7 separate regions of the Homo sapiens genome follow, and regions 1, 2, 3, 4, 5 and 7 are each linked to region 6. Evidence: promoter capture Hi-C in 16 types of primary human blood cells and fetal thymus (Javierre and others, 2016). All regions are on one chromosome and are shown on one strand. The core of a region is centred on a gene start or on the middle of the fragment in contact, and the rest is flanking DNA. Distances in the headings are between cores, read along the strand shown.

Evidence for each region. The method cuts DNA at HindIII sites, captures the fragments that hold promoters and counts their contacts. A CHiCAGO score of 5 or more calls a contact.
Region 1: a contact is called between a fragment that was not itself captured here and the fragment with the promoter of FRS3 in region 6, in 9 of 17 cell types (erythroblasts, megakaryocytes, total CD8 T cells and 6 more). The highest score is 8.8, in erythroblasts.
Region 2: a fragment that was not itself captured here is called in contact with the fragment with the promoter of FRS3 in region 6 in 10 of 17 cell types (naive CD4 T cells, endothelial precursors, naive CD8 T cells and 7 more); the score reaches 9.0 in naive CD4 T cells.
Region 3: a fragment that was not itself captured here is called in contact with the fragment with the promoter of FRS3 in region 6 in 1 of 17 cell types (total CD8 T cells); the score reaches 5.2 in total CD8 T cells.
Region 4: a fragment that was not itself captured here is called in contact with the fragment with the promoter of FRS3 in region 6 in 1 of 17 cell types (erythroblasts); the score reaches 5.1 in erythroblasts.
Region 5: a contact is called between a fragment that was not itself captured here and the fragment with the promoter of FRS3 in region 6, in 1 of 17 cell types (total B cells). The highest score is 5.1, in total B cells.
Region 7: a fragment that was not itself captured here is called in contact with the fragment with the promoter of FRS3 in region 6 in 15 of 17 cell types (total CD8 T cells, naive CD8 T cells, naive CD4 T cells and 12 more); the score reaches 18.4 in total CD8 T cells.

Annotation. Positions count from the first base shown.
Region 1 is chr6:42,078,156-42,081,938 of GRCh38, reverse strand. TAF8 (TATA-box binding protein associated factor 8) reads right to left here. Exons shown (of 9, transcript NM_138572.3): 9 at 1-3,783. Among named protein-coding and RNA genes, the nearest start is that of TAF8, 30 kb to the right of the region's middle. The HindIII fragment of the contact is 1,421 bases long and covers 1,025-2,445 here.
Region 2 is chr6:42,198,779-42,202,284 of GRCh38, reverse strand. No RefSeq gene overlaps it. Among named protein-coding and RNA genes, the nearest start is that of GUCA1B, 5.6 kb to the right of the region's middle. RefSeq lists a cis regulatory region at 2,329-3,015. The HindIII fragment of the contact is 4,638 bases long and covers 1-3,506 here.
Region 3 is chr6:42,094,831-42,098,655 of GRCh38, reverse strand. No RefSeq gene overlaps it. Among named protein-coding and RNA genes, the nearest start is that of C6orf132, 46 kb to the left of the region's middle. The HindIII fragment of the contact is 4,276 bases long and covers 152-3,825 here.
Region 4 is chr6:42,131,777-42,135,700 of GRCh38, reverse strand. All of the region lies in intron 1 of C6orf132 (chromosome 6 open reading frame 132), which reads left to right. Among named protein-coding and RNA genes, the nearest start is that of C6orf132, 8.9 kb to the left of the region's middle. The HindIII fragment of the contact is 7,031 bases long and covers 1-3,924 here.
Region 5 is chr6:42,229,445-42,233,345 of GRCh38, reverse strand. TRERF1 (transcriptional regulating factor 1) reads left to right here. Exons shown (of 18, transcript NM_001395490.1): 17 at 418-665. The region is part of intron 1 of LOC105375061 (a long non-coding RNA gene); the gene reads right to left. Among named protein-coding and RNA genes, the nearest start is that of MRPS10, 14 kb to the right of the region's middle. The HindIII fragment of the contact is 7,864 bases long and covers 1-3,901 here.
Region 6 is chr6:41,777,420-41,781,274 of GRCh38, reverse strand. FRS3 (fibroblast growth factor receptor substrate 3) reads left to right here and starts at 1,375. Exons shown (of 7, transcript NM_006653.5): 1 at 1,375-1,459; 2 at 3,099-3,242. PRICKLE4 (prickle planar cell polarity protein 4) reads right to left here and starts at 493. Exons shown (of 8, transcript NM_013397.6): 1 at 449-493. RefSeq lists silencers at 710-779, 1,060-1,469, 1,500-1,649. The HindIII fragment of the contact is 6,259 bases long and covers 1-2,487 here.
Region 7 is chr6:42,168,527-42,172,589 of GRCh38, reverse strand. All of the region lies in intron 1 of GUCA1ANB-GUCA1A (GUCA1ANB-GUCA1A readthrough), which reads right to left. Among named protein-coding and RNA genes, the nearest start is that of GUCA1A, 2.8 kb to the left of the region's middle. The HindIII fragment of the contact is 1,549 bases long and covers 511-2,059 here.

The sequences.
Region 1 (3,783 bases), core at 486-2,985, 300 kb before region 6:
TTTTTGCAACATCTTGTGAATCTATAATTATTCCAAAATTAAAATTTAAAGAAAGATCAATCAGAGATACGTATAGACACATTTAGATTAAATGACACAGGTCTGGAGTTTGCATTTAAAAATACTCCAGAAGAGCCAGGCGCGGGGGCTCACGCCTGTAACCTCAGCACTTTAGGAGGCTGAGGCAGGTGATCACCTGAGGTCAGGAGTTGGAGACCAGTCTGGCCAACATGGTGAAACCCCATCTCTACTAAACCTACAAAAAAATTAGGCCAGGTGCGGTGGCTCATGCCTGTAATCCCAGCACTTTGGGAGGCCGAGGCGGGCGGATCATGAGGTCAGGAGATCGAGACCATCCTGGCTAATGCAGTGAAACTCCATCTCTACTGAAAAATACAAAAAATTAGCTGGGCGTGGTAGCAGGCACCTGTAGTCCCAGCTACTTGGGAGGCTGAGGCAGGAGAATGGCGTGAACCTGGGTGGCGGAGCTTGCGGTGAGCTGAGATTGCACCACTGCAATCTTGACAATCCACTGCAATCCAGCCTGGGCGACAGAGCGAGACTCCGTCTCCAAAAAAAAAAGAAAAAATTAGCCAGGCGTGGTGGTGGTGGTAGATACCTATAATCCCAGCTACTCAGGAAGCTGAGGCAGTAGAATCATTTGAACCCGGGAGGCAGAAGTTGCAGTGGGCCAAGATTGCACCATTGCACTCCAGCGCGAAACTCTGTCTCACACGCACACACACGCACACACACACACACACACACTCCAGGAGGAAAGAAAATAAAGGACAAAAAGTGGGAGAAACAGATGAAACAGAATCAACAAGCTACTGACAAGTGTGGAAGCTTGATGAGGCATATACAGGGGTTCATATATTTTGCTCTCTAATTTTGTATTTGAAAATTTCCAAAATAAAAGTTTTACTAAGTTCCCAGGTGTGCTTAGGCCAACACAAGGGCTAAGCCTGACTTATTTGTCCACATTGCTGTTAACTTTTGAACACAAATTAAGTTCAAAGCTTACAGTTCTATTTATTTACAAAGTTTTTATTATGAATTTTTATTGAGATTTTCATAAACATTTTTAATCTGCATGTTTACTACTTTTGGCCTCTAAGAAGTCCCATAAAGTTATAAAAAATAGAAATTTATAAATACACATTGAGAATTTTGCATTTTTATACAGGGTCAATGTTTCAAGTTGTCTAACCCTTTCCCTGTCTCCCCTCAGAACAAAATTATAAGAGTATAGCCTCTGAGGCCAGGCGCGGTGGCTCATGCCTGTAATCCCACCCACACTGGGAGGCCGAGGTGGGTGGATCATCTGAGGTCAGGTGTTCGAGACCACCCTGGCCAACCTGGTGAAACCCCGTCTCTACCAAAAATACAAAAAAAATTAGCCGAGAATTGTGGTAGGTGCCTGTAATCCCAGCTACTCAGGAGGCTGAGGCAGGAGAATCCCTTGAACCCAGGAGGTGGAGGTTGCAGTGAGCCGAGATCACGCCATTGCACTCCAGCCTGGGCGATAAGAGTGAGATGCCGTCTCAAAAAAAAAAAAAAAAGAAAAGAAAAAAAAAGAGTATAGCCTCTGAAATCTCAACAGCAGAAATAGCAGCCCTTTTCCAAATCCCACCTCTAACTCAGCACATCTGCATTCAACAGGTGCTTACACTGGATAACAACAACAAATGGAAGCTGCAGAAACACTGACTGGGACAACACCTCCCAAGAGCAGTGAGAACAGCTGGGATTGGCCACGGCTTGAATGTGGGGCTGTGTTCATAAACTTATCAGGCCAAGAATCGCTAAGAACTGAATCACAAACCCTGAGAAGGCCACATAGGCCAGTCTAACTGCTTCGATCTAGGAGAGTTTCACGTTACTACAAACCTGAAAAACTCCTATTTAGTCCAGTTGGGGAATCCAATTTTTTTTTTTTTACTAGCGTCCCCTCTTCCGTTCCTGACAAGCAGCTCTTTCCTTACACAGTACAGTGAGGCCAGAAGAACATGGAGCCTGCTGTCAAGTCCCCAAGTTTTTCAAGTTTCCAAATTCACCAAGGGAATGGAAGACTAAGAGATGGGCTGGGCACCGTGGCTCACGCCTGTAATCTCAACACTTTGGAAGGCCAAGGCGGGTGGATCACTTGAGGCCAGGAGTTCAAGACCAGCCTGGGCAACATAGCAAAATCCCGTGTCTACTAAAAAAAAAAAAAAAAAATTAGCCAGATGTGGTGGCGGGCATCTGTAATCCCAGCTACTCTGAGAATTGCTTGAACCCGGGGAGTGGAGGTTGCAGTGAGCCGAGGTAGTGCCACTATACTCCAGCTGGGGCGACACAGCGAGACCCTGTCTCAAAATAAAAGGAGTTGAACTGTGGAAGCCAAAGGGGAATACATGAAGCTAAATATGGACGTTAGGATTCTAATTTGGGAAACAAGCTTATTCATCCAGTGTTCACTTCCACGTGTTGTTACATTTTTCTTCCTTGGATTTAGTTTTAAAAACTCTTCCTTAGGAGACCAGAAAAGCTATCAGCATGCCCAGCATCTTCCTTAAAAACTTGTTTTCTGGTTTGTAGGGTATGTTAAGAATGAAGTTGTTCTCCCCACAGGATACAAATTGGTTGGACAGACTCAGACCTGCTTCTTGCAGAACGCCTCAGCTTGGCTCACTCCTGCCCATCCACCAGCCTTCCAGCTGACCAGCCGTTTCTCAGCTTTCAGAATACAAGATGAGGCCCAGCCCTCAACACCCCACCCTCACCCCACCAAATCCTTTCCTATTGTTTACTTTATCCTTTTTTTATTTTTTTGAAATGGAGTCTCGCTCTGTCACCCAGGCTGGAGTGCAGTGGCACGATCTCGGCTCACTGCAACCTCCGCCTCCCAGGTTCAAGTGATTCTCCTGCCTCAGCCTCCCGAGTAGCTGGGATTACAGGCATGAGTAACCACACCCGGCTAATTTTTGTATTTTTAGTAGAGACGGGGTTTCACTATGTTGGCCAGGCTGGTCTCGAACTCCTGACCTCAAGTGATCCACCTGCCTTCGCCTCCCGAAGTGCTGGGATTACAGGCGTGAGCCACTGCGCGTAGCCCCTCTTTCCTACTGTTTAAACCCCATGGCTCCTCTGTCAAGTCCCAGCATAATAGAGCCGACGCTCTAGGCTCTTGTCAGAGAAAACCTCTTCTTCCAGAAGGGGTAAGACTTGGCAGTTCCCAAGCACACATTCCTCACAGGGGCAATAAATGGTAAATCTCTCAGGAGGAGAGTGCTGCCCCGCTTCAGGGAGCTTTCGTCAAATGCCGACGGGAGGACAGGTGCAGCCCCGACATGTCGTTCTTCTTCACAGTGATGCATCTGCTCAAGACTCCTGACTCCTGCCCACCCCAAACAAAGCTGTGCTGTGTGGCCTCCTGTTTCCGACACGTTGAGGGAGTACAAAGAACTTTTCATCAGCTCAACGGAGCACTTGGGAGGCCAGATGAGGAGAGAAATAAGAATGAAGTTCTGGGATGAGAAAGTGGTGCCACAAATTGTGAGTCAATAAAAGGGATCCAGATATCCTGAAATACACGCTGGACAAACAGTCTTCCTTGTAATAAGCACAGCAGCAAAGAGCCCTTTCCTTCCTGTCACTTTCCCTGGTCTCTTGAGTTTCAAAGGAATCAAATCCTGTGATAATGAACGAAGTCACTGGCTGCTGCTATGCCCCACCACATAGCCTGATTGATTAAGAAAGTCTCTGGTGGGGTGCGGTGGCTCACGCCTGTAATCTCAG
Region 2 (3,506 bases), core at 363-2,862, 420 kb before region 6:
AAGCGCTGGGATTACTGGCTTGAGCCACCATGCCCGGCTGGATTTCTAATCCTCTTTAAAATGATATATTTATAACTCAGTAGCTCAGCGACATTTATTTATAGGGCAGGTCATGGGCAACTGACCCACATGAAAAACCAATTGAATTTTAAATTCCTCGGCCAGAGGTTAAATCAAGTTATATTTCACTCATAAAATTTCTTAACTTGGGCAGAGATACTGTACTTTAATCAATCTTCAATGCTGCTTAAATAATAAGTGTTAAGAGATGGATGGAGCCTGGCCAACATGGCAAAACACCACCTCCACTAAAAATACAAAAATTAGCTGGGCATTCCAGGTGCTTAGGAGGCTGAGACATAAGAATTGCTTGAACCCGGAAGATGGAGGTTGCAGTGAACCGAGAGTGTTCCACTGCACTCCAGCCTGGGTGACAGAGGAAGACCCTGTCTCCCTGTCTAAAAAAAGAGAGATGGATGGGAATAATACTACCTTCACACCAAGCCAGTTGAGATGCTGCTGTTACAGAGCCACGGCTGCTGATGGGCATGTGTTATCTTAAAGTGTGTTGAGATGGGTAATTGGAAATTAATGGGCTAGATAATCTTCAAGGCCTTTTCCAGTTCTAAAATCCCATTATCATTTTTATCTCAACAAATACCTGCTAATCTAGACACTAAACAGAGTCAAAGAGGAATTGTCTTGTAAAATGAAGGAGTGATAGCTGACGTTAATTCAGCATTGACCATGTGCCAAGGACCTTGCTCAGTTACTCAACAAGTATTTGAGTTTCCTGTACATGCCAAGTACTGTTCTAAACGCTGGGAATTCTGGAATGTATATAGTGAAGTCCCTCTCCTCAAAGATCATAGACTTTAGTGAGAGAGACAGACAAGTAGAGAAAAAAATAAGATAGTTTCAGATGCAATTAAGTACTGTGAAGAAAATAAAATGGGATAATATCAGAATTACTTGAGTGGCTACCTGAGGGGGAGTTGGGAAAGTTCTCTCTGAGGAGGAGGCAGTGGTGTTAACATCTGGAGGAAGAAGCTGGGTGTGGTCACTCATGCCTGTAATCCCAGCACTTTGGGAGGCTGAGATGGGTGGATCACCTGATGTCGGGAGTTCGAGACCAGCCTGGCCAACACGGTGAAACCCCATCTTTACTAAAAACACAAAACCTAGCCGGGCTTGCTGGCGGGTGCCTATAGTCCCAGCTACTCGGGAGGCTGAGGCAGGAGAATCGCTTGAACCTGGGAGGCGGAGGTTGCAGTGAGCCGAGGTTGTGCCATTGCACTCCAGCCTGGGCAACAAGAGCGAGACTCCCATCTAAAAAAAAAAAAAATCTGGAGGAAAAACAGTCCAAGTAGGAGGAACAATACATGCAAAGACACACTGATTCTAGAAGGAGTTTGGTGTGTTTGCAGTGTAGAAGACCATGAAGACAGAAGTAGGCAGGGACTAGATCGTGTAATGCATCATAGGCATGGGGAGGAGTGTGGATTTTATTCTCAGCAAATGGAAAGCTAAAGGAGGGTTTGAGCAGGAGAGTGGCAGGATCTGCTGTATGCTACTGTGGCTGCTGGGTGAAAGAGGAGTGACGAGAGGGCAGGGAGACCAGTTAGGGATCTGCTGCGGTGGACCAGGTGAGATGATGCTGGTCTGGGCGAGAATGTCAGGAATGGAGGTGAGGAGAAGTGGTTTGATTTAGAGTATAGTTTGCAGGAAGAGCTGATGAAATGACCTACTAGTAGATTGAAGTGAAATCTAAAGGAAAGAGCATTCAAGGATAATTCCTGGGTTTTCACCTAAGCGTAAATAGCAGTGCCATTACTGAGGTGGAGAAGAGATAAGGTGGGACTCGGGAAGGAAATCAGTAATTTGGTTTTGGCCTTGCTAAGTTTGCAATCTGAGTATAGATGTCCAGTAGGCAGTTGAATACATGCATCTGGAGTTCCTGGGAGAGGTCCAGGCTGAAGATACAAATTTGGAACCTGCCAGCCTGTAAATGGTGTGTAATGGCATGGGAATGAATGAGATCATCTAGGGAGCAAGTGTGGGTAAACAAAGGAAGAGTACTAAAGACAAGCCTGGAAAGCTCCCAGCTTTTAGAGATTTGGTTAAAAGCAAGAGGTGCTAGCAAAGAAAATGAGCAATGAGTGAGGCTGGAGTGAAATCAGAGGAGTGTGGGTCCTTGAAATGTAGAGTGGAGAAAGAACTTAGTTTGGTGAACTGTGATGAATCTGTGGCAGGTTAGGTTAAAAAAAAAAAAAAAAAAAAAAAAAAAAAAGTAGATCATTGGTGACCACAATAAAAGCCATTTCTGTGGAGTGATGGGGATGAACGTCCAGTTGGAGTAAGTTGAGGAAAGAATAAGAGATTTAAAAAGAGGATGCAAAATAGGTTTGAGAATTTCCCAGTTATCTATTGCTACCTCAAAAAACACTTAACACTTAGTAGCTTAAAACAGTGACTCTGCAGGGATAGTGTCTGCTCCATGTGGTATTAGCTGGGGTAGCTCAGAAGCTGGGGCTGGAGTAGCTCAGAAGCTGGGGCTGGAGTCATCTGAAGGCTCATTCACCCATGTCTGGTGGTTGAGACTGGCTTTCAGCCAGAACCCCTGCATGTGCTCTGGGCTTCCTCACAACATGGTGGCTGGGTTCCAAGGGCAAGTTCTGAGAAAGAGAGCCTGGTGGAAACCTATCACTTTTGATGACCTAGCCCTGGAAGTCACATTGTGTCATTTCTGCAGTTATCTTCAACAAGGCAGCCAGAAAGTTTCCTCCGGGTTGAAGAGAAAGATAATAGACTCCTCCCTTTGATGGGAGGAATGCGTGAAGCCAGAATGATCGTCCTGCCATTTTCTGAAGATACATCTGCCACAAGGGGCTTTGTTGTAAGGGGAGCAAAATTTAGGACAATAGCTGGGCAGGGGATGTGGGCAGGTCAGTTTACCCAGTAGGCACAGTGCCTAGGGCCCAATATTTTAAATTTCTTTTAAAACCAAAATAAAGGCCAAGTGTGGTGGCTCATGCCTATAATCCCAGCAGTTGGGAGGCCAAGGCAAGAGGATCACTTGAACCCAGGAGTTCAAGACTGGGAAACATAGTGAGACCTTGTCTCTACTAAATATCAAAAAATTAACCAAGCATGGTGGCGCACAACTGTAGTCCTAGATACTCAGGAGGCTGAGGCGGGAGGATTGCTTGAGCCCAGGAGGTCGAGGCTGTAGCGAGCCCTGATAGCACCAGTGCACTCCAGCCTGGGCAACAGAGACCCTGTCTCAGGATAAATAAATTAGTTAATTAAAATAAAATCGGAGCCGGGAGCGGTGGCTCATGCCTGTAATCCCAGTACTTTAGGAGGCCAAAGTGGGTGGATCACTTGAGGTCAGGAGTTCAAGACCAGCCTGACCAACATGGTGAAACCCTGTCTCTACTAAAAATAGAAAATAAGCCAGGCATGGTGGCGTACGCCTGTAATCCCAGCTACTTGGGAGGCTGAGG
Region 3 (3,825 bases), core at 1,040-3,539, 320 kb before region 6:
CTACAGGAAGCCTTCCCCAGCCCTGCTCTGCTCGGAGACCTCTTCCTCCTCCATACCTACCTCTCCCACTTCTGTGGCAGGCTCTTCTTTATCCTCAGGCTTCAGCTCAGACATCCCTCACCTGCTAGGCCACAGCAGCTCCTGCAAAGCTTCCCACGGTCCCTGCTGCTCTCCCTCCCCGCACCTAGTGTTACTTGGTCTACATCTCTCTCCCAGCAACTTGTAAGCTCCACAACGTAAGGACGCCTCACTCATCACAGTATCCCCAGCATCTGGTGCTGCTCCTGGCACCAGCAGGTGCTCACTATATTGAGTTTATTGATGAATACAAGTTAGTACTTAATCAAATATCATCAAGCACTGTGTAAGTTCCTTGGCTGGGCGCGGTGGCTGACACCTGTAATCCCAGCACTTTGGGAAGGTCGAGAGGGATGGATCACGAGGTCAGGAGTTCAAGACCAGCCTGACCAACATGGTGAAACCCTGTCTCTACTAAAAATACAAAAAAATTAGCCAGGCGTGGTGGTACACGCCTGTAATCCCAGCTACTCAGGAGGCTGAGGCAGGAGAATTGCTTGAATCTGGGAGGTGGAAGTTGCAGTGTGGAACTTAATCTAATGCTGAGGTTATCAGGCTGAGGGAAGGTTTAGTTTTAGGGATGAGTCTCTAAGGTCTCATCATAAAGGTGTCCAGATGCCTTGGAGTGGCTCCTGCCTGGTGGGCTGAGATACTGCATCCTCTAAGTAGAGACATGAGCTAGGATGTTATGGCACCAGGTGAGGGAGTCCTGGTCCTCAAAGGATCTCAGGCAGCCCTCTACACCCCACCAGTGAGCCAGCCACAGGGGCGGCCAGCTCCAACAATCCAAGTGACTTGCACTCTGTTGCTTTTTCCCTTTTGAGCTCCTTTGGTCTTCAGCAAACTTACTTGGTGCCACAGCCTATCTCAGCTGTGGACCAAGGGTAAAGTTTCCATTACATGTGGGCGGGAGAATTGAGAAGGAAAGCACCTCTGGGGGCCAGGGTGGCAGAAGCCAGCCAGGTCCGACCTGTTCACCAGCCCTCCCCACCTGCAGAGCCCACCTTCAAGAGGAAAGCCTTACAGTTCTAGGTTTGGTTTTTATTAAGGAGTGAGCTCCCTGCACAAGGTTTTGAGGGCCTAGCAGGGGTCTAAGCACAGAGTGGGGACCCAGTAGACTTGCTGTTTTGAATCTCTTCCATCTCAGCATAGGATCATTAGCCCTAATGCTACTCTCAGAAGTGGGACACTGGCTTCTCATTTTCTTTTCTTTCTTTCTTTCTTTTTTTTTTTTTTCCTGAGGCAGGGTCTTGCTCTGTCGCCCAGGCTGGAGTGCAATAGTGCCATCATAGGTCACAGCCTCCAGAGCTCAAGTGATCCACCTCAGCCTTCCTGGTAGCTGGGACTACAGGCATTCACCACCAGGCCTGGCTAATTTTTTTTTTTTTTTTGAGATGGAGTCTTGCCTTGTCGCCCAGGCTGGAGTGCAGTGGTGTGAGATCGGCTCACTGCAACCTCCACCCCCCATGTTCAAGCAATTCTCTGCCTCAGCCTCCTGAGTAGCTAGGATTACAGGCGCCCGCCACCACACCTGGCTAATTTTTGTATTTTTAGTAGAAACAGGATTTCACCATCTTGGCCAGGCTGGTCTTGAACTCCTGACCTTGTGATCCACCCGCCTCGGCCTCCCAAAGTGCTGGGATTACAGGCGTGAGCCACCGTGCTCTTCCTAATTTTTGTCTTTATTTTTTGTAGAGACACGGTCTCGTTAGGTTGCCCAGGCTGGTCTTGAACTCTTGGGCTCAAGCAATCCTTCTGCCTCAGCCTCCCAAAGTGCTGGGATTACGGGCAAGAGCCACCGCACTTATACTCCCTTCTCATTCTTGAAAATGGAATATTTTCAGTCTTGTCTTCTACAGACTGAGCCTTCTGACTCCTTTCAGCTTTCCTCACTGCAGAGAAGCATCTCCTGCCGCTTTTCATTGTTGCCTTAGTTTATTTTCTGAGCCATTCAAGAGGGTTTGGTAGGCTCCTACTTTCTCTGTCTCTCTCTGGGCTACCCCATCTGTCATCTTCCTGCCTTTTGGTTCACAACTTTCCAGCATTTGTTCTAATAGCTAAGGGCAGCACAGAATTCCACCAATGCAATTCAACACTGCGAGGGGGCGCCACTCAGTACAAGCCAAGGAACCTCGCAAGAGGCTCACAGTTGAGTGTGGAAGACAGACGTACACACAAATAACTGGACTATGGAGCAGGAGAATGCAAAGCTCTTCCACCCAGGAGAGCCCGGTGGCCCAAGAGAGCACGGGACCACATGGGGCACTGTTGGGTTGTCCTTGTGGGTGTCCTCTCTTGCTGGCCTGTGACCCTTGTGGGAGCACGTGCATGAGCTGGGCAGAGGAATGAGGGATGCCCTTTGTGTGCTTATTTTTCCTACAGAGTGAGTTGTGGTCTTTCGGTGACCTCTCTTGGCCATTTAAAGCTGCCCTTGACATTCACTTTAACTGGATTCTCCAGGGAGAGGAGAGGGGAGTGCCAGAAGGCACCTGTGTAATTTACCCTGGTGTCCAGCACCGCAGTCTTAGCCTGGCATCCCCGTGTGTGCATGTGGAGTGGGCATTAGCCAACAGGTGGCACTTTGCTCACAAGTGCCTGAAGTTTGTGTGACTGGTGGGGTTCAGGTTCAGACTGAGATCCATCTGAGGTTGACATGGCTTCTCCTAGGATCCAGGCACAAAGCTAGGTGCTGTCTGGCACACCAGTCATTCTCAAAACTCAGAAGTGCATCAGAAGCACTTGTCAAAACACAGGTGTGTGGGACTTGTTCCAAAGCTCCTGATTCAGTGGGTTTGGGATGGGGCTGGGGAATTCACATGTCTTTCTTTTTTTGTTGTTTTTTGAGATGGAGTCTCACTCTGTCTCCCAGGCTGGAGTGCAGTGGTGCGATCTCGGTTCACTGCAACCTCTGTCTCCTGGGTTCAAGCAATTCTCCTGCCTCAGCCTCCCGAGTAGCTGGGATTACAGGCACCCACCAACATGCCTGGCTAATTTTTGTATTTTTAATAGAAATGGGGTTTCATCATGTTGGTGAGGATGGTCTCGAACTCCTGACCTCAGGTGATCCACCCACCTCGGCCTCCCAAAGTGCTGGGGTTACAGCGTGAGCCACCACACCTGGCTGGGAATTCACATTTCTAACAAGTTTCCAGATGAGGCTGCAAGTCCTGATGGTACAGGGATGGCACTTTGAGAACCCCTGCTGTGCAGTGTCATGTGTCATCACCTCATCTCCCTTAGGGCAGATAGTGCCACTCCCAGCTTACCAAAGAAGAAACTACAGCCTCCACAGGCCAAGTGACCTTGCCAAGGCCACACAGCTGGAGGGTGCTAGGGAGCCAAACTGCACCTGCTGCACTGCCTTTTGCCCCCAGGGCAATGTGGCTGGGGTGGGTGTGACAGCATCTCTCCAAATTTTTGTTCCAGAGAGGGCAGTAAGTAGAGAGGGCAGGCTTGGGGTAAGCAGTACTGGGAGGTGGTCATAGAGTCACTGTTAGGCTAACAGTCATTCCTTGGGTGGCCATAATGTTTTAAAGACACTTTCAGCAAGGCACAGTGGTGCATGCCTGTAGCCCCAGCTACTTGAGAGGCTTGCTTGAGCCCAGGAGTTTGAGACTGGCCTAGGCAACATAGTGAGACCTCATCTCAAAAAATATTTAAAAATAAAAATAAGATACTTTTGCTTCTATCTATCTATCTATCTATCTATCTATCTATCTATCTATCTACCTATCTTAGAGACCGGGT
Region 4 (3,924 bases), core at 799-3,298, 350 kb before region 6:
ATTAATCAAATTAATTTTCTCTCTAGTTTGGACCTAGCTAGAATGTGGGGAAAGAACTAAATAACTGTCCCAGAATCTTTCTGACCTCAGCTTCCATGGAGATCCATGAGCAGCTTTGGGGCTGAGGGAGGAAGAACATTCCTTCCAACCCTGAACTCTGTGAGCAAAGAAATGCAGAAGACTCAGTGAGGCTCCTCCGCTCGGGGAGCAAGGGAGAAAAGAAGGGCTGGGCGTCCTGTGGCAGCATGTACCTAGCTCTCAGCTCGCCCGGAGCTGGCCCACCCGCCACATTTAACACGTACCCCAGCCCAGGCTGAGAGAGCCAGGTCTGCCTGTTGGGGAGAGGCAGGGAGCCACGTGCCCTGCCATGCGTAAGGCAGTGCAAGTCAGGGGCCATGTTTGACCCCTGCTAGGCAACCTTGATCCAGCCTCTCCCACTCTGGGTTGCTGCAAAGAGGGCTATTCAGCCCCAGGCATCAGGACTCAGAGTGAACCCGAACAAGAAAGCAAAGGGCCCAAAGGGCCGCCTGCCTCCCGGTGGCTCTCCCCAGTGGGGACAGGTGTCACCATGATTTGCAAGTGACACAGCCCAGCTCAAGCTCACAGCCCAAACTCTTGGTGGAAGGAAGTAAGGTGGAGCAGAGAGAAAATGACGATCACAACAATAACCAGCCCTCCCAATTATCATTATTATTTTTTTGAGACAGAGTCTCACTCTGTTGCCCAGGCTGGAGTGCAGTGGCGCAATCTCAGCTCACTACGACCTCTGCCTCCCAGGTTCAAGTGATTCTCCTGCCTCAGCCTCCCGAGTATCCTGAGTAGCTGGGATTACAGGCGCCCACCACCACGCCTGGCTAATTTTTGTATTTTTAGTAGAGATGGGGTTTCACCATGTTGGCCAGGCTGGTCTTTTTTTTTTTTTTTTTGAGATGGAGTTTCGCTCTTGTCACCCAGGCTGGAGTGCAATGGCTCAATCTCGGCTCACTGCAACCTCTGCCTCCCCGGTTCAAGCAATTCTCCTGCCTCAGCCTCTCGAGTAGCTGGGGTTATAGGCACCCACCACCACGCCCAGCTAATTTTTGTATTTTTAGTGGAGACGGGGTTTCACCGTGTTGGCCAGGCTGGTCTTGAACTCTTGACCTCAGGTGATCCACCCGCCTTGGCCTCCCAAAGTGCTGGGATTACAGGCGTGAGCTACTGTGCCCGGCCGCCAGGCTGATCTTGAGCTCCTGACCTCAAGTAATCCTCCTGCCTCAGCCTCCCAAAATGCAGAGATTACAGACGTGAGCCACCACTCCCAGCCAACCCTCCCAATTATTGAGCATAAATATCTGCTAGGCACTGTGCTGATGACTTTTGCACACTTTCTCTCACTCAACCTCACATCAGCCTGCCCAGCAGGGACCACTGTTCACATGTACAAAGATAAAGAGACAGCCTCAGAGAGACCAGTGAGGCTCCCAGGATCCCACAGTTAAGTGTTGGAGCCGGAACTGGAACCCAAGTTCAGCTGGGCTCTAAACCCATAGCCTTGACCCCATAAGGTCCTGCCTCCCGTCCCAGCCAGGAGCTGTTCGACTACTGGGTGTTTCCGGCCAGGGCAGAACCTCAGCCATGGTCTCCTCACAGCCCAGGCAGCCTCAGCCACAACTCTGCTGCCCTCTGGCCCATGGCAGAGCCAGGTTCTCCTGAGGGAGAAGGGGCAGGAGGGGAGCTGCCTGTACCCAGGTTGAAATCTGGGGTGAAGTCTCCTGCTTGGCACCAGGAATTGTTTTTGGAACAGGTTTTTGGATGTTAGATGGTATTAATATTTATGTCAACTCAAATCCTTGAGGGAGTGTAAATCCACCTCCCCCGCCCCGCCCCGCCCCGCCCCCGCCCCTGTCTCCTTCTATGAGGGAGAAATTGTTAGGGAGAAACTCTAAAGTAATCCTATGCATAATCTTGTCATAAATAGGATTCCATTTGGGGGGAAATTTGGTTCATTTAAAGATCAGGTTTGGGTCAATGGAGGCAGACCTGGATTTACCCCTATTTTATCACTGCATTATTTGCATGTGAGTTTGTCAGAAGTTTGTATCTTGACAGGACTGTGGTCCATCTGGGGCTCAGGCCTTGCTCAGAACCTGCTGCTGGGGTCTCACAAGGCTTCCTGGCTGCTGGAATTGCCCCAGGACTCTCTTTCTCTGGAAGCTCCTGGGTCCAGGGGCATCTCCCTTCCTTTTCCAGCTTTCTGAATCCCACCTGGATGTTCCAATGCTGCCTCTGTGGTCCATGCATGTGGCAAGCATAAAACCTCTGAGATCCCGAAGGACTTTTCCAGAAAAAGCCAGACACCAAGGGAGTTTGCAAGTTTCAGAGTGGATGAGACACGGGGCTGTGCCCCTCTTTCTCACTGCAGTCTTGTTCCGAGAGCAAATCATCCAGCCTCCTCTCCAGGCACCCCCTTCACCTCCTCCTCGCCCCTCCTTCCTCAAGGGAAACCAGGATGTTCCTAGCCCTCCTTTAGCTCCTCGACTGAGGAGGGAGCTGCTTCTCAGGAAGGCCTCAGCATCCCTGACCTGTGATCTGAGCAAAGTTCATCACTTCCAATAGGAAATTCCCCAAGGTTGAGCTCTGTTGTCTTTGTTTAGTTTTGGGCCTTGACCTTGAGGCTGGGAAGACCCCAGTTCTGACCTTGAATGCTTTGAGGATCTAGCTGATGGAGATAGACACACGCGCCTCACCTCATGCTGTGCCTCCACCCAGCAGGAGCTAGGCCAGGTCTGAGGGGCCCAGAGAGTTGGCCTGATTGCAGCCACACCTCCTTTTCTTTTCTTTTCTTTTCTTTTCTTTTTTTTTTTTGAGACAGAGTCTCACTCTGTCACCCAGGCTGGAGTGTACTGGCACAATCTCAGCTCACTACAACCTCTGCTTCCCGGGTTTAAGCGGTTCTCCTGCCTCAGCCTCCTGAGTATCCTGAGTAGCTGGGATTACAGGTGCCCACCACCACATCCGGCTAATTTTTGTATTTTTAGTAGAGACAGGGTTTCACCATATTGGCCAGGCTGGTCTTGAACTCCTGACTTCATGATCCACCCACCTCGGCCTCCCAAAGTGCTGGGATTATAGGTGTGAGCCACCGCGCCCAGCCCCACACCTCCTTTTCTTATTTTCTTCTTCTTCTTCTTCTTCTTATTATTTTTTGAGACAAAGTCTTACTCTGTCCCCCAGGCTGAAGTGCAGTGGCGCAATCTTGGCTCACTGCAACCTCCGCCTCCCTGGTTCAAGTGATTCTCCTGCCTCAGCCTCCTGAGTAGCTGGGACTACAGGTGCATGCCACCACACCCAGCAAATTTTTTGTATTTTTAGTAGAGACGGGGTTTCACCATGTTAGCCAGGATGGTCTCGATCTCCTGACCTTGTGATCCGCCCGCCTCGGCCTCCCAAAGTGCTGGGATTACAGGTGTGAGCCCCCGCACCCAGCCCCTTTTTTTATTTTGATAACAAATTTACTATCTTACAATTCTGCGTGTCAGAACTCTGACACAGGTCTCTGTGGGCTCAATTAAGGTGTTGGCAAGACTTTGTTCCTCTGGAGGCTCCAGGAGAGTCTGTTTCCTTGCCTGTTCTGGCTGCTAGAGGCAGCCCACAGTCCTTGGCCAGTAGCCTCCTTCCATCTTCAAAGCCAGCCATGGCAGCTGAGCGCCTCTCACAGCGCATCACCCCACCTCTGCTCCCGTATCACGTTTCCCTCTCTGACCCCTACCCACTCCTCTTCAGACTGGGAAATCAAATCCGATTTTCCAGAGGTGCCTGGTAGCGAGAGGAGCCACCTGGGCCTTCCAACCCGGCCTCAACTACAGCCACTACCCTTCTATATGTTTTACAGAGAACAATTATGTTCTTAGAAAGGATTTCACTGCTTAAAACAACCACAAAGCA
Region 5 (3,901 bases), core at 164-2,663, 450 kb before region 6:
CCACCACACTCCAGCCTGGGTGACAGAGCGAGACTCTGTCTCAAAAAAAAAAAAAAAAAAAAAAGTTTGAAAGCTGGTCCAGCCCTCTCATTCCTCAGATGGAAAAAAATAAAGTATACAGAAGGGAAATGGCCCAACAGCTTTAGTTATAGTAGAGCTGGGTCCAAACCCCTGACGTCTTGACTTCTAGACAGTAGCTTTATTCTTTATCCTGTGCCACGTCGCTTCTTCTCTTCTGATTGTAGCAGTGATGAGGTTTTGATTGGCACAGGATCTGTGGTTGTGGTATTTGATCTTTACCTTTTGTAGCATATGCCCAAAGTTTGCTTATATAAAACCCTTGTGCCCTGTCATTAGACAGTTTCAAGTATTCCATGTTTACCACTGAGTAACTAATAACCCTAATTTCCTTTTCAGGACTGTAGATGTCATGTCACTCCCTTTCTTCCCCAGGTGTTCAGCTCCCGACAGGCACTGAATGGCCATGCCCGCATCCACGGGGGCACCAACCAGGTGACCAAGGCCCGAGGTGCCATCCCCTCTGGGAAGCAGAAGCCTGGTGGCACCCAGAGTGGGTACTGTTCGGTAAAGAGCTCACCCTCTCACAGCACCACCAGCGGCGAGACAGACCCCACCACCATCTTCCCCTGCAAGGAGTGTGGCAAGTAGGTGCAGGGGACCGGGGACTGAATCTGAGTTCATGATGGGTAGTCGCTCTATGGGAGCTGGGCCAGGATGGCCTGAGGTTTCTTCAATCAGAAAAAAGAACTTAGACCTCAAAACTCTTCTTCGTGTCATCTTTGGGATGGGTATGTAGTCCTGTTGCAGACTCAGAATATGGCCATTCTGTTATCTTAGAGCCTTGTAAGGATGGATATCTTCAGAGAGTGAACCTGTAAGTTACAAAACTTCACTCTTTCCCAGGAATGGCAGGTGGGACTCTGGTTCCCACTCCTTCCCTTCACACCCAAGCTATGTTCACTAGCATTACTCTGTTTGGATCCCCGCTGAATGATTTGAGAATGGCTCTACAACATCTAATCAGGAACTCTCTGTAACACAGATGGCTCATACAGGGTAATCCTACCACCTTCGCTTACTTCTGTGACTAAGGCAGACATCACTAATCAATCACCACACTTTGCTATCACTTTAAGACAAAGCCTCAATTACTTTTTGTTGTCATGCTTCAAGCTGCACAACCAATTAATCAGAGTTGACACATGAAATAAAACCTATTTGTTATCCTCCCCTTTTAGGTATAATTTAAAAAACAACAACAGCTAAAGAAAAAAAGTAACGAGATAGTAATTATAATAGCTAACATTTACTGAGCATTTACTTTGTTACATGCTTTATGTGTGTGAGCTCACTTAATCCTTACATAGAAACTCCATGTGATACAGATACTGTTTTTTTATCTTTGTTTTACAAATAAGGGTTTAAAAATTAGGTAAAATGACTTGACCTAAATCACAGTGCCAGTAAAGAGCAGAACTGAGATTTGAACCCAGTTTTGTCCGAATGCAGACCTGGGCTTCTGACCACTGCTCTTTCCTTTTGGTTTACTTTGTTTTTTGCTTTAGGTAGAAAATGCCATTGATGGTAAGATGGGTGATTCCCTCCCACAGCCTCCAGTAGAGAATTCCAGTGTACTTCTCAATGAGTCCACCTGACTGGAAGGGTACTACATTGTTATGAATTACATCCTTTAGGAGCCTTGCTGAGTTCCTCTTCCCATAATTCCTAGTGCCTCGAGCATGAAAAGGAGTATTACCTGGGAGAGATGCTGCCCAAGTGGTTTCTGAAACTCTACCACGAAAACATCCCTAGTTACATCAGCAAGGCTAGGTGGGACCTCTACTTATACATCCTCATAGAGTAGAGCAGGCAACTTAATAGTAACTGCTGTTTATCAGGTACTAACTATGTGCCTGGCACTGTTTTAAAGGATTCTTTACATGTTTTAGTCTGTTTTGTGTTGCTACAACAGAATATCACTGACTGGATAATTTATAAAGAAAATAAATTTATTTCTTATAGTTCTGGAGGCTGGGAAGTTCAAGGTCAAGGGGCCTGCATCTGGCAAGGGCCTTCTTGCTAAGTCATCCCATTGTGGAAGGGCAAAGAGAGGGGAGAGAGAGCAAGAGGTTGAACTTGCAGCCTCATACCCTATTATAATCGGCATGAATCCATTCATGAGGGTGAGGCCCTCGTCACTGAAACACCTCCCATTAGGCCACACCTTCCAACATAGCTGCATTAGGGATTCAGTTTTCAACATGTGCTGTTTGGGGGACACATTCAACCCATAGCACATGTACTGATTAATCTTTAAAATAGCCCTATGAGGCAGGTACTTTTAGGAGCTTCTTTTTTACAGGCAGAAACTGAGGCACAGAAAAGTGAAGCCCCTGTTGCAGTTCACAGCGAGCAGCCTAGTGGGGATTCACACCATGCAGGCTGGCCTGGCCTTGTGCTCCTGGCTCTATGCCATGCTGCGTCTGATTAAGCCCAGCTTGATGGCACCCACCAAAGTGAACTGGAACTAGCAGATCACTTCCCCCCATGAAGCACAGGGATGGGAGAGATGGGATTCGGTGTGGGTCTCCTCCACACCCTGCTGTCCTTCCAAGCTGGCCATGATGTCATTTTAACATCACCACCCACCACACACTGGTGCACCATGGAAGAAATGGGCCCCTGGATTGATCTTAAGGCTTTTTTAATTGAAATAATGATGGAACCACCCTCAGCTGACTCTCAGTGATCTCCCGCTTATTTGTCCTGGAGTGGCAGCATCAGGGTATCAGGGTCTTGCCAGTTTTCCCCCAGAGGAGCTAGCACCACCCACTCATTAGGCTCAAACAGGCTACAACGCTACATTCCACCAGGTGGAGACAGAGGATGATTTAACTTAAAAAAAATCAGTATTTCATGTTTCCCAGCCATGTCTCAGTAGCATCTATTAAATGTTTTTTTTTTTGGAGTCTTACGTTGCTTGGAAACTTTTTCTACCAGAAATCCAGTTATGATTTCATGGAAAATACAAATGGTTTCTGTGGCTTTTCCTAACTCAAAATAACATTAGGCAAATGTTCACAAAATACCTCTTAGAGGTGCTGAAATTATGTTTGTTACATTTAACCATTTTCAGTGTGTCCAAGCAGAATTGTGATTTATCAGCCCCGTTGGACTCAGGCCTTAGAAACCAGGTGTTTTGTGTGTGTGTTTTTGTTTTGTTTTGTTTTTTCCTTCATGAGCTCAGAAGTGACTAAAGAGTATTATGCCACCCCCTCTCCATAAACAGTCTCACACCTGGGCACGCTTCTTCTGAAAAAGGTCCAGATAGTTAATATTTGAGGTTTTGTGGGCCGTTTACTGTCTTTATCATAACTGCTCAGCTGTGCCATTGCAGCACAGAAACGGCCATCAACATTGCATAAACAGACATGGCTATGTGCCAATAAAACTTTATTCCCAAAAACAGTCAGGATTTGGCCCACTGACCATAGTTTGCAGACCTCTCATCTAAAGAATTAACCCCAGCAATATATCATTTTATCCCCGGGTTTCTCAACCTCAGCACTGTTGGCATTTCAAGTCTGCCAATTCCTTGCTTGGCGAAGAGGGAGTGTCCTCTGTGTTGGAGGATGTGTAGCCATTATGATAATATCATGGCCACAAAGCAGGGGCCTTAAGTGAAAGGGAGTAGTAGATGTAGCTCAGAAGTCAAGTACAATAAAGACAGGGGCCACTGAATTTGGCCACACAGAGTTACCAGTGACCTCGAGAAGAGCAATTGGGTTGACAGGGAGAGGACAACAGTCCACTTGGAGAGGAAGAAGCAGAGAAAAAAGAGATCCACCAAGTGCGTGTGGGCAGATCCTTCAAGAATTTT
Region 6 (3,855 bases), core at 126-2,625:
CCCAAAGGCAGCCAAACTCCACCTCCACCTAGCACTGGAACACCCTTACTAACAGGCCAGCTGGATTCCTTCCATAATTCCCTTCCCCCTCCCACCTCAGATAAGGGACAGAGCTGAACCCCTTGTCTTGCCTCCGTGCAGAGCCTCCGTGCAAGAGGGCTCAGGAGCTGGACATCCCCAACACCCGCTGCCCTGAAGGGCAGAGCCCGAGAGGACTTAGGGCTTGGGGAGGTGGAGGGATGGGAAGATTTCTGGGGACAGTGGGAGGGAGAAGGAAGGGGAGTGCCCAGTCCCGCCAACTGCCCTCTCGATAGATCCCCAGAGTTTTTCTGGAACTTGGCGGGCCCGCCTCCGGGGCTGGGACGCGGTGTTTCCCGAGTCCGCTGGGGTTCCCGGTCTGGCTGCTGGGATTTTAGGGGAGGGGACCAGGACTCCGCTGGGGTCTCACCCTCGCTGTGCGTCGCTGTCCGGGCAGTTCTGGACCGACTCTGCCGTCAGGCCCCTCACCCGGTCCCCACCCCAAGGCTTCAGCGCCCGCCCCCGTCCGCCCCCGCCCGCCCTAATAGCGCGGCCCTTCCTCTCCCACGCCCCAGCGGCCCCCGCCCGCCCCTCCCCGGCTGGTGGAGAGGGGCGGCTCAGGGAGGGGCCTGGAGCTGCAGATTGGGGGGAGGAAAAAAAAAAGGAAAACAAAACCACATTTATGGGATCTCAGGGTGGAAATGTGCGGGCTCCATGGCCTCTGCCATGCAGGTGCAAGGGCTCTCTGGCTCGGACTGCGCCCGGCAGGCATCCAGCAGACGCCGGGAGCCGCGTTTACGCTGGGTTTTCAACCATTCGCTGAATGGAAACGCCTCGCCGGGCCCGCAGCCCTGTCTCTCCGCAGTTCCCAGGTCTCCCCAAACTCTCCCTGTGGTCTCCCAGCCCCGCTCCTCCGCGTGTTTCCCTTCAGTTCTCTCCCCCTTGTCCCCAGTGGTCCCCCTGGCCCCTTCCCCTCCCCTCAACCCTCTTCCAGGTTCCATCGTCTTGCCCTTCTCCTTTCAGGTCCCTTCAGACCCTCTCCCCTTCCCTTCGTTTCTCGCCCAACCCTCCGTCCCCTTTCCGCTCCCCGGACCACCCCCAACTTTGGTGTCCTCAGCCCCGCCTCCGCGCCCCGCCTCCGCCGCAGGCTCCGCCCTGTCCCCTCCGGGCTTGCTCAGCCCCTGGCCAGGAGCGCCCTCTGGCGTCTGCGCATGCTCACTGCTCCCGACTGCAAAGTCCTCCAAAGGGACCTTCTAGGCTGCGTGCCGGTCGCCCCCGCTCGGGTCCGCCAGCCCGCAGCGTCTCGTTGGTGCTGCCGGTGACCTCCGACCCCGCGGCCGCGGGGCGGGGCGGGGCGGGGAGGCCTTAGCTCCGGGCGGGCGGCGGCTGCTGCAGCGGGACCCGGGAGCGGGGCCCGGCGCCGCCCGGGCCGCGGGGCGATGTGAGTCGGGGCGCGGCGGGGCGGGGACGAGGCGGCTTCACCGAGGCCGCGCCGCGCCGCGCCGCGCCGCGCCGCAGTCTCCACTCCCTCCCTAGGAAGCCCCGGGCGGGCGGGCAGGCGGCGGAGCACCGGGGCTGGGGGCGGGGATCCGGGGACAGCGCGCACCCAGACCTCCTCATTCCTTACGGGCATGTAGAAATTCCCCTTGACAGTCCTGTAGCCTGTCCTGCAGCCTCTGGCTCCCCCAACCCACCTCTACCCTCTCCGCCCTGGACACATCATCGCATCTCCTGGAGCCCTCAGAACCCCCTCATTCACTCAACAAATCTCCTGCTATGCCCACGGACCCACCATTTCTCTTGGATGCCCCCAAATGCTTCCACTGCCCGGAAATTCCTAGGATCCCTCATATCCCCATTCTCCTTGCACTATCCAAAATGCCCACATCCAAAATTCTTGCTCATGTTTCCCCAAACGTCCTCATACGTTTTCAGCCCCCACACCCCCCTCTCACTCCTGCCCCTGATCCATACCTATCCCAGACCAGAGGCCTCTCCCCATTTCCACTCAATGCAGTCCCTCCTCAGTGGGCTATCTGATACATCCTGATATCTTAAGGAGAAGAGATGGTGATAGGGAAATTCAGCCCCTCCCCCATCTTGCACCCTAGAGTTCTTCGTTTCAGTGCCCGCGCCGTGCCCCCGTCGGTGGCTCAAGCCCCAGTATTTTCCCAGCAACCTATCTTTAGTCTGTGCACACCTCCCTGAGCCTGCTTCTTCCTTCCAGAAAATAAGCCAGACCAAGGGGATGGGGTCCTTTTACCTGGAAGTTGTCCAAGGATGCAGGGTGCAAGGGGCCCTGGGAAGTGTTTCTCCAGAGCAGGAATGTGGGATGTCCAGGGTCTGCAGAGTCCTGGCTTGTTGACTTGTCTACCTTGGGCTCAGATATCCTGAAATTTTGGCTTACTGTTAACATTTATGTTAAAATTAGGCCTTTCAGAGCTTGGGGAGCAGAAAATCTATCAAGCTTCCAAATGCGAAATTGAAGCAGCCTGTCTTGGAAGATGAACATGTCAATTTTAGTGAAGTTTGTCTTACGTTTTTACCTCTGCAAGTTATTTAAGCTAGAAGCTCCCCAGTTTATAGATGGTTCCCCCAAAAACTAAGGCCTTAGGTGGGAGTTGGGGGGGGCGTTGACTTAAGTCTCCCAGATACTTAGTAGCAACAAAACTGACCGATATATTGGTTTCCTGAGTCTTAAACCAGTGCTGTCTCTACTATATCACAGTGTCCTTTTGAGAAAGCTCTTTGTAGAGTTAAAGTTCTCTGCAAAGGTAAGGTGATGGTTTTGGTGTTTGTTGTAACAGGACTCAGAGGGAGATCTAAAGTGACTTAAAAGGTCTTTGGTCGTCTTAGACTTCAAACTTATTGATGTTCTTGGTGTCTGTCCCTCTCAGGGCCCGTGGGGCTTGGGATTTGTGCTCCCTTTGCCCTTGATTTTACTTTCTTCATTGGTGTTTTTGTCCCATTAGGGCTGGAACAGATACCCAGGTGGGATGGACTGTTAGGTCAGTTTTCATTAACAGTTGGGGGTGAAGATAGAAGGTTTTGTTAATCAGTGTCTCTGTTTCCTATGCTAGGTGAGCCCCAGGTGTATCCCAGAGGGATCCGGGTGACTTCTCTGCAGACTGTTTGCCATGACAGCCCACCAAGGACGGGGGGAATAAAGTGGGAACCCTTCCCCATGCCCCTCCCACGGTCAGCTCCCCGATGGCCTGGGTGAGGTAAGAGCTGTGTATAGGGGTCAGTTTTATGGCGTTTCCCAAGTTGGGAGGAACAGAGGGTACAGGTCACCTGGTTGTTCAAAGCTTTACCATTCAGCAGGAGTTCTAGAAGGATAGCCAATCCTACAGACTTATTTCTTGTGACAAGTTGCAACCCCTTAAAACTTCTGCTTGGTATTGGTCCATGCATTTCTTGTTCCCTTAGGTCATTCAAGCTTGGGTGGTGTCCTCTTCATTCTAGGCACAGTCCTGACTATTGTGACATATAATCCAAGTACTGGAATCCTGGAGGGGAAGAGCCAAATAGTAAGGCCTCTGGTCTCCCCTTCAGAAAAAGGGAAGGAAACCCAGCATTTTTTTTAAATGAAGAAATATCCACTTGAGGTTATTAAAACTGCACTGTTTTAAATGTTCAGTCTTCTGAATATATCTTTATGATCACAATGTAACAACTCATTTGAAGAGGACATCAGAAAGATAAATTTGCACTGGATGTTGGGATGGTAGTAAGGGAGAAGAGAGAACTTGGATGAAGTGGAATGGATGAGGTAAAAAGGGAGGAAAAAAGAGACAGGCACAGGCCAAAGTGTCTGAGACCCCCAAGTGACAATTT
Region 7 (4,063 bases), core at 36-2,535, 390 kb before region 6:
CCTGGAAAGCTCCCAGGCCAAGCCTGGGGGCCTGTCTATGCAGCAACAGCTTTCTCTGATGCCTGGTGGGATGCGTACTCCCTAGCCACACACTTAAAAGCTGGCTCATTTATGGAACCAGCATTTGGGTGCAGGTGCACTTAACCTGGATGCTGCCAGGAAAGCTTAAAGCCAGCGCTTGCCCTGCCCTGTCTTTTTCTCTTGTTTGCCTTCCTCCTTTACATATGGGGCACACCCAGGTCTCCTAACTCATCTAGAGGGAACCACTGCCCATATTTCTGCTTTCCCCACCAGGGCCTTGGACACTTGGTCAAGTTGTGCACTGATACACAATTTATATGATTTATATAAATAATATATAATTACATGTAAATAGATTTATATAAATATACAATTTATACAACATATAACATATATCAAATACATGTGCATACATATTTCAGAATGGGCTAGGTTATGCTACAGTAACAAACCACTCTAAAATCTCAGTGGCTGAAAACAATACAAGCTTGTTTCTTGCTTACATTACTGGCTGGGTGACCTTGAGCAAGTAACTTAACCTCTCTGGGCCCCAGTTTCCTCATTCTTAAAATAGGAATAATGGCGCCCATCTGATAGGGCTGTTAAGGGGAGTAAGTGGGGCTGGGCACGGTGGCTCACACCTGTAATCCCAACATTTTGGGAGGCCGAGGCGGGTGGATCACTTGAGGCCAGGAGTACGAGACCAGCCTGGCCAACATGGTGAAACCTCATCTCTATTAAAAATACATAAATTAGCCAGGCGTGATGGTGCACACTCCTGTAATCCCAGCTACTCGGGAGGCTGAGGCAGGAGAATCGCTTGAACCCAGGAGGCGGAGGTTGCAGTGAGCCAAGATCGCACCACTGCACTCCAGCCTGAATGACAAAGCGAGACCCTATCTCAAAAAAAAAAAAAAAAAAGAGTATGTGAGTTAATATAAGAAAAGCATTTAGAACAAGGTCTGCCCCAGAGTAAGTGCCCCATAAATCTTGGCTATGATGTTATGATTTTGTATCTATTACAGCAGCATGTCTGATGTGCTGTTCACTACAATCTAGGTGCACTTATACTGCATCTTGGACACAGCAGCATCCCTGGGTTAGAGCCAATCGTGCTCTTGTCCCTTTAGCCCCATTCACTCTGGGCCCTGGACGGCCAGAAGGGCTATGTGTAGGAACAGACATCCAACCTGCCTCACACAGGCCACCTACCAGCTGTAGTCAGGCCCTAGGGAAGGTGGAGGCCTTTGTTAAAGCCTTACCAGATCCAGGCTCACGCCTGTAATCCCGGCACTTTGGGAGGCTGAGGCGGGTGGATCACAAGGTCAGGAGTTCGAGACCAGCCTGGCCAACATGGTAAAACCCCATCTGTACTAAAAATACAAAAATTAGCCAGGCATGGTGGTGGGCGCCTGTAATTCCAGCTACTTGGGAGGCCGAGGCAGGAGAATCACTTCAACCTGGGAGGCGGAGTTTGCAGTGAGCCGAGACTACGCCATTGCACTCCAGCCTGGGCGACAGAGAGAGACTCCATCTCAAAAAAAAAAAAAAAAATTGTTCATAATGAACATATGTTGCTCACAAAATCAAAGAGGATAGTTATTTTTGAAAAAGAGACAAACTGGGACTGTTTTACCTCTACTCCACATGAATTGATTGACGGAAGGTATATGGGGGTGGGGAGCTGGGTTCTCCCTGCTTCAGTCAGCTTCTCCACAACAAGTTAAGGGACGGGGAGAGAAGGACTCCTTCTGTGAACTTGCTTGGGGCCCAGCTGGAAAATGTGTCCTTGCCGAGGACTCTCAGGCCCAAGATTGGGAAATGAAGAGGTTGGGGACAAGGCAGCCGCTCATCTTTCCCTTTCTATTTAAATCCCTCTCACTCTTCATGTGTGAGTACAAATGCCACCTCCTCTGTGAAGCCTTCCCAAATCTCTCTCAAATATCTTCCTCCCACAGCATACTGACATTTTGCTTATGTGTTGTGACAGTTAATTTTAGGACTGGATGAAGGGATTACCCAACAAGCTGGTAAAGCTTTATTTCTGGGTGTTTCTGTGAGGGTGCTTGCCAAAGAGACTGGCATTTGAATTCATGGACTAAGTAAGGAGAATCTGCCTTCAGCCTATGTGGGTGGGCACCATCCAATTGGCTTAGGCCTGGACAGAAGAAAAAGGCAGGGGAAAGGTGAATTCTCTCCCTCTCTCTCTCTCTCTCTGTCCTGGAGCTGGGACACTCTTCTTCTCCTGCCCTTGGACTCCAGGACTTGCACCAGTAGCAACCCCTCCCCACTCTCACGTTCTCAGTCCTTCAGCTTCAGACCCAGAGTTACACCATCAGTTTCCTTGGCTCTGAACCCTTTGGGCTTGAACTGAGCCATGCTACTGGCTTCCCTGGTTCTCCATCTTGCAGATGGCATATTGTGGGACTTCTCAGCCTCCATAAACATGTGAGCCAATCCCCCTAATAAATCTTCTCTCATACCTCTATATATAATCCTATTAGCTCTGTCTCTCTGAAGAACTCTGGCTAATGTGTGTGTTATATTAGTTTTCTATGTTGCATAACAAATAACCACAAAGTCAGCAGTTTTAAAACTACACACATTTATTATTATTATTATTATTATTATTATTATTATTATTATTATTATTTTGAGATGGAGTTTCACTCTTGTTGCCCAGGCTAGAGTACAATGATGCGATCTCGGCTCAGCACAACCTCCTGCCTCCCAGGTTCAAGCAATTCTCCTGCCTCAGCCTCCTGAGTAGCTGGGATTACAGGCATGTGCCGCCATGCCCCACTAATTTTGTATTTTTAGTAGAGACAGGGTTTCTCCATGTTGGTCAGGGTGGTCTCAAACTCCCGACCTCAGGTGATCCACCTGCCTCAGCCTCCCAAAGTGCTGCGATTACAGGCATGAGCCACCGTGCCTGGCCACACATTTATTATCTCACAGTTTCTATGGGCCAGGAGTCCAGGCACAGCTTAGCTGGTCCTCTGCCTAGCGTCTCACAAGGCTGCTCTCAGGGTGTCACCTGGGCTGTATTTTCATCTGGAGGCTCAACTGGGGAAGAATCCACTTCCAACTTATTCAGGTTGTTGGCAGAACTCATTTTGTTGTGGCTATGTGACAAGGGAGCTGGCTTTTCACTTGACATTGCCTGGGGGACACACTCAGGTCATAGAGGCTGCCCTCTGTTCCTTGTTACACCAGCTTCCTCACCACGCTGCTTATTTCATCAAGTCAGCGAGAAGAGTCTCTCTGCAATCTGCTAAAGTCTATATAACCTAACATAATCCACAGAGAGACGTCCCATCACCTTTGCCATATTCTATGGGTTAGAATCAAGTCAAGGGCCTCACCCACACTCAAAGGGAGAGAATTTTACAAAGGTAGGAACAACAGGAGGTAGAAATCACTGGGGTCACCTTAGGGTCTATTATGACATTCACTCTTCTACAATAACACGGACATAGCATTCATTTCTTTCCAGAAGTATTATATAGGCAACTCTTCTTGCCAGCCTGCTCTAAGGAACCCAGCAAGCTCACAGAGGGTGGAGACCATTCTGTTATTTGTGTCTCGCCTGCCCCCAGCTCCTGGCACCACACATTCCACATTGTCGTGCGCTAGTTGTTCTGTTTGCCCAGCCCCGACTCATTCTCCCCCTTTCTCCTCCAGCTCTGAGCCCCAAAGACTGACCCTACAGACTGCATCACCCAGACTCTGCTGCCCTCTTGTTTCAGGCTGGGTTCATCTGCTGAGAAGCTGGAGGAAGACTGGAGGGTGGAGAGGGAGAAGAGCTGGGACATTTGTTGTCCTCACTCCTCCCTGCCAGCTCAGGGTTGGGGCAGCGGTTATTTCCTTCCACCTTCAATCACCGCTCCTGCCATAGCTCTCTGGGCTCCTGTAATCATGGCTCCCTCCCTTTGCCCCGCCAGGCATGATAAGGGCTTCCCTCTCGCTACTGTCTGGGTACATCACCATTCCCTTAACTATGCCCAGCTCTCTGTTAATAGTCCCCACATCAACTCTCCTA